2 separate regions of the Homo sapiens genome follow, and region 1 is linked to region 2. The links are contacts of gene promoters, found by promoter capture Hi-C in human tissues and cell types (Jung and others, 2019). All regions are on one chromosome and are shown on one strand. The core of a region is centred on a gene start or on the middle of the fragment in contact, and the rest is flanking DNA. Distances in the headings are between cores, read along the strand shown. Region 1 overlaps ARHGEF7 (Rho guanine nucleotide exchange factor 7). Region 2 holds the start of ARHGEF7 (Rho guanine nucleotide exchange factor 7).

Region 1 (2,700 bases), core at 4-2,503, 130 kb before region 2:
TCAGCCCCAACCAGCAACCTAAAGGGAGGACAAGGGGCTGGAGATCATGCCACTCAGCAATGTCCAGTGATCTAGTCAATCATGCATGTCTACCTAACAGAGCCTACATTAGAAACCACCAAGGACAGGGCTTGGAGAGATTTTGGGTTGCTGAAAGCACGGAGGTGCTGCACCCAGAGGGCCTAGAAACTCTGCTCCCATCCCTTACCCTACATCTTTCTTCTATCCATCTCATTCTGAGTTGCATCCTTCATAATAAACTGGTACCAGGAAGTCAAGCACTCTCCTGAGTTACATACATGGGTCATTCCAGCAAATTATCAAACCTGAAGGGAGTCATGGGAACCCTCAAATCTGTACTCAGTCAGGTAGGAGTATATAGCTTGGGCACCCCATTTGCAGCTGGGTTTGAAATGTGGCAGTCTCGTGGGAGACAAATGTCCGAATAGAACTGAACCACTGGAAACTCAGTGTCAGACAATTGACGAAGTGCTGGTGTGAGGAAAAACCTCCTCTCGTTTTTTGCCTGGTTACCTCCCATTTACCCCTCAGTGCTCAGTGATCTTCCCCTGAAGTTTGCTCTTGGTGCCTGATATGATTTCTTTCGTAAGAAGGTCTGCAATTGTAGCTTTCTAACTATTTATACAATTTTCAATTATCTGTCTCCCTCACCAGACTATAAGCTCCACCAGGACAGGCTCTATCAGCAGCCAGCCAGCATCACGCACGTGGTGGCAGCGTGTGCACAAGCGCCGAATGCACGCATACCTGAGAAAGCTGCTCTAGGCAAACTGGGCACATTCCAGCTATCACAACCTCACAACACAAATGACAGTGTGCCGCTACTAATGCAGCAAATGGCACAAGGGCATGGAAGGCAGATTGCAGTTTCTATTGTTTTGAACTGAAAGCCTAGACAAAGCATGCTTGCAAGGAGCCCTCTACAGCTGATGAAAGGAAGAACTGTGATTTGAAAAACTAAAAGGAAATGGGTTCTATAAATCTGGCTATAGCCAAATTACTCCTATCAAACTGACTCGCCTGCAAATAACATCGAAACTTTAAAAAACATATAGAAAGTAACTGCCTAGAGGCACTCAAAAGTAGCATGAAAGATAACAGAATCTTGGGACCCAAACTCACTATGCCAGTGGGAAAGTGAAGCTTGGGAACTGAACTGTGCAACACTGTCTGCCTTTTGTTGCCGAACAGAGAGCTGTCATTCCACAACCCTGTGTCATGGCCTCATCCATACGCCAGGTGCCCACAACTACAGAAGGCCACATAGCTCCCCAGATGGCCTTCCTCACAAAGTGCTCACAAGGAGATTTCTTGTGAGCCCCTAAATCTATCAGAACATATGTCCCCCACTAAAAACTAGCCCTAAAACCGAGTTCTATTGTATCTCACCCTGGCAATGTCAAGTACCAGCTTATCTTCATAGGTACAGACAAGGACAAGAGCAGAAATCACCCTTCCCGTGAAAGAGAACCCTGAGAAAAACGCACAACTGACTTTCCTCTACTCCCCCTTTCCCGTGTAAAATGCAGGCTTACTGAGGCCAATCGGAGGCTCACAACAATGTTTAAGCATCTGCCTCACTGCTCCCCAGCCTCCCTTTTTTCCCCTCCTGCTTGTTCTTTCCCCTTTAAATACTGAACTTCTCAAAGCTTTGGAAAAAGCACAAATGCTCCTGTTACCTGGCACGTCCTCAACTGCAGCTACGTAAACCTCTATCGATTGAGACCTGCCTGAATCACTTTTTAGTTAGCATCAGGTATATTCTGGGGAAGGATGGACATTTGGAAAAAAGAACGGGCAGGGCACCTCCTGCTTTCTCAACTATTAAGCTAATGGCAGCCAACTTTGTTATGTGGAACAGCTAAAACTCCAACAAAAATCCACAGGGTTTGGTTCTACCAGAGTTGCTGGGAAGCTGGGGGAAACCCACGGTGAGTGTGACCCTGAATTCTGTCTCTAAATTCTGCCCAAATCTCTGGCTGACGGCAGAACAGAACTTGCAAGGCCAACTTCAGATCAGCTGAGTCTAAAATAAGTGGACTGAGATTTGAGCATCTGCCAAAGGGAGAGTTGGCAATTTGAGCCTGACCAAGTTAACTGCCTGTCAAACAAGCAAATCAATACTCTTCAGGGAAACCTAACATGATCAAGAGTCTACAACCCACAGTAAACAGGACACAATTCAAAGTCACTAGAAATAAAAAGAATCATGAAGACGTAACCCATCCTCACAATAAAGAATCAGCAGATGGGACCTTAAAGCAGTTATTCTAATTATTGCTAAAGGATATAAAGAAAAATATTCTTGTAGTGAATGAACAAATATAAAATCTTAGCAGAGAACTAAACACTTTTTTTAAGCGAAACAAATTCTAGAACTGAAAAAAATTCTCAAACTAAAAACTTGTTGCACGGGGACGAACAAGAGAGTAGAGAGGCAGACAGTGAACACTTAGGACACAGCAGACGCCATTCAACCTGAAGAACAGAGCAGAGACCAGGTCAGAAAGCAACGAGCAAATCCAGGACCTCCAGCAAAAGGTCTACATGGGTGTAACTGGAGCCCCAAGGCAGAGTAGAAACAGTAAAGCAGCAAAATATTTGAAGAAATAATGCCCGCAAATTCCCCACATTTGGTAAAAGACATAAATTTTCAAGTTCGAGAAGTCAGAAAACCAC
Region 2 (2,700 bases), core at 64-2,563:
CCTTTTAAATAACTGTTGATCTTAACGCTATATATTGGCCACCCCCACCCCCACCCCACCCCCCGAAGAAACACCCTGGGAATAAGATTTTAGTATTTTGAGCTACAGGGAGACATCGTTTTTAGAAACTCTCCTGCCTCCTCGGCCCTGCTGGCCGGCTTGTGGGCGATGAAAACAAACTTTAATCACTTCCAGAGATTCGGGTCAGGGTTCACACGCTCCAGCCTGGGAACCACCAGCCGGAAGGGAGAAGCAGTGCCTGCAGGACTAAAGGTTCTGTTCAGAACGAGGGAGGGACCTGAGAACGAAATCTAGAATTTTAACAAGCCTTGAAGAGTGCCAGGACTTAGACCCTGTGTCTGCCGTCCTCTCGGCTCGGATAGGTGGGGAATTTTCTCGAGGGGAAAGTAGTAGATCGTTTCACAGCGCAGCCCTCAGCTACAGATGCGTGCCTCTTTAAAAATACAGAGCAACCGGTCAATTAACCTGGGAGGCGAAACTCACGCAACGCCACCGGCAAGAACTGTCCACACAAAGCCAGCGGAGTGAGCCGCACCGCGTCGGAACGCGGTTTCCGATGCGGCTGCTGCCAGGGAGCGGGGCCGGCCCCCCACGCGGAGGGGCAACTTAGCGTTCGGGCGGCGCAGAAGCCCCGTCTCCTCGCTGCGGTGCACTCTCCTTCCCGGGGACCCCCGCCGCCCGCGCCGCCCCTCCCCCCGACCCCGCTCCCCGGCCCCCTCCCCCTGCCCCGCACACAATGGCGCCCCCCGAGCTCCCGCCACGGTCCTGGCGCCGGCCGCGCCGCCGCTCCGCGCACAAAGGAGGGCGCACGGGTTTCCCGAGCGCGGCCGGCCTCAGGTGCTCCGCGCGCATCCCGGGCCGCAGCGGGCCGGACCGGGGGGCGCGGGCGGGGGCGCGGGCCGGGACTTACTTTCTCGATGGTCCCGGGGAGCAGGCGCTCCAGCAGCCTGCAGAGGACCACCCCATCCTTCAGCGACGCCTGCAGAAAGCCCTCCGGGTCCGAGATGGTTTTTTTGGGCGACTCCAGCACCCCCAGAGTGATGAGCCACGTAACGGTTTGCTCGGCGGAATTCATCGCTGCGGCCCGGGAGGCAGGCGGGGAGGGGCGCGCGCCTTCACCTCGGAGCGGCGGCCCGGCCCGCGGCCCCCGCCGCCGCCGCCGCCGCCTCGCCCATCGAGCGGCCGGCGCCGGCGATTGGCTCGGCGCGGCCCAGCAGGTCCGGCCCGGCCCGCTTCTCCGTGCGCCCCGGCCCGCTGTCAGGCGCCTTCTCAGGAGCGGCTCGGGAACCTGCGGGCGCCCGCCGCCGCCCCCCGGCCTCGGCCGCCGTCGCCCAATGACATCACCGCCAGGAGAAGAAAGACGCGGCCGTCCGCCCGGCCCGCGCCCGGCCCGCGCCGCCCCGCGCCCTGCGCAGCCTCCGCTCCAGGCCGTGCGCGGGGCGGCGGCGGCGGCTGGGAGCGGGCGGGGAAGGGAAAGGGGAAGGGGAGCGGGGAGCGGATGGGGAGGGAGCCGGGGGTGGGGGCGGGCGCGCACCTGCGCTTACCTGCCCCGGGCCCGCCGTGCGCCCCGCGCCCCTGGCCGGGGCACTCGGAAGCCTTTGTTTATGTTTTGAATTCGTGAGCGTTGAAATGATGAAGTACTTCCCAGAATGCTCTTTTTATTTTTGCCGGTTTTATTTCAAGGTGGCGGGGACAGGCTGAAAACGAGACGTTTGTTTCGCTTTGCTACCTTGCAAGCCGGTCATGACGGAACAGAAATGATGGTTCCATCTGAAGCCATATGGGTCTGAATCGGGAGGAACCGACTCTCCGGAGCGCGGCGCCGACCTCACCGGCAGGGCAGGGGCCTGCGCGACTCTGCTCTAGACGGACGGTGACGCTTCAGACCCTGCCGGGGGAAGGTCAAGGAAACGGCGTGGCCTGAAGTGGGGCTGTGCAGAGGGCCGGGCCGGGCCGGGCCGGGCGCCTGGCTGCGTCTCGGGGACGCCGAAGATCTGGGCTGTGAAAGCAGCAGGCCGAACCTGGAGAGCCCAGACGGCAAGTGTCGCGTCATGCGCGAGCTTCCTCGAACAACTGATGACACGCACACATTGACATGCGAGGAAGAAATGGAGCCTCTTCTTAAAAGGACACGAGTCTCCACTCACTCCATCCACTGTCCCTGGGCGCTCCCCCAGTTTGCTCGCTATGACCCGCGGGCAGTTTAACAAGCAAAGCACTTAGTCTATGCCAGGCACATACATTAATCCATTCAATGACAAAGGCTAGAAAGCATATAAAGCTTCCAAAAATAATCAGAGGCTTAAGTCGTCTCCCCCTGCCTTCTGCCGGTGGATTTCTCTTGCAATCACTAATTGCTTTTATTTCTAGCCTTGAGTTAAGTGGTTAAAATTTTCTTTGCAAATACAAAAAATATTCAAATGGCAGTATGAATTCTGGATTACGAGGACAATGTGCTCAGTGATAACAGCGACTGGTTAGGAACCGTCACAAAGTGCTGTCTACTGCCTCGCCTCCCATCATGGTCCCCTTTTACTGATCAGATGCCGAACAAGTGGCAGAGATAAGACCCAAAGCTCGGCTCCTACCAGGAAAGGCATACCTAACCCGTTTCCTACTGCTGCCCTATAAGCTTTCTAGGAAACAGGAGGGCAATTAACAGCTACATCAAGGCTTGTA

The links. Contacts are between HindIII fragments. The study calls those that stand out against the background at their distance.
Region 1: a fragment that was not itself captured here is called in contact with the fragment with the promoter of ARHGEF7 in region 2 in 2 of the 25 tissues and cell types used here (aorta and small bowel).

What each region holds. Positions count from the first base shown.
Region 1 is chr13:111,248,376-111,251,075 of GRCh38, reverse strand. The region is part of intron 8 of ARHGEF7 (Rho guanine nucleotide exchange factor 7); the gene reads right to left. Among named protein-coding and RNA genes, the nearest start is that of TEX29, 71 kb to the left of the region's middle. The HindIII fragment of the contact is 4,062 bases long and covers 1-2,700 here.
Region 2 is chr13:111,113,923-111,116,622 of GRCh38, reverse strand. ARHGEF7 (Rho guanine nucleotide exchange factor 7) reads right to left here and starts at 1,313. Exons shown (of 22, transcript NM_001354046.2): 1 at 932-1,313. The coding sequence starts at 1,096. It overlaps ARHGEF7-AS2 (ARHGEF7 antisense RNA 2), which reads left to right and starts at 945. Exons shown (of 2, transcript NR_046667.1): 1 at 945-1,076; 2 at 1,705-2,700. RefSeq lists a silencer at 1,351-1,440. The HindIII fragment of the contact is 8,096 bases long and covers 1-2,478 here.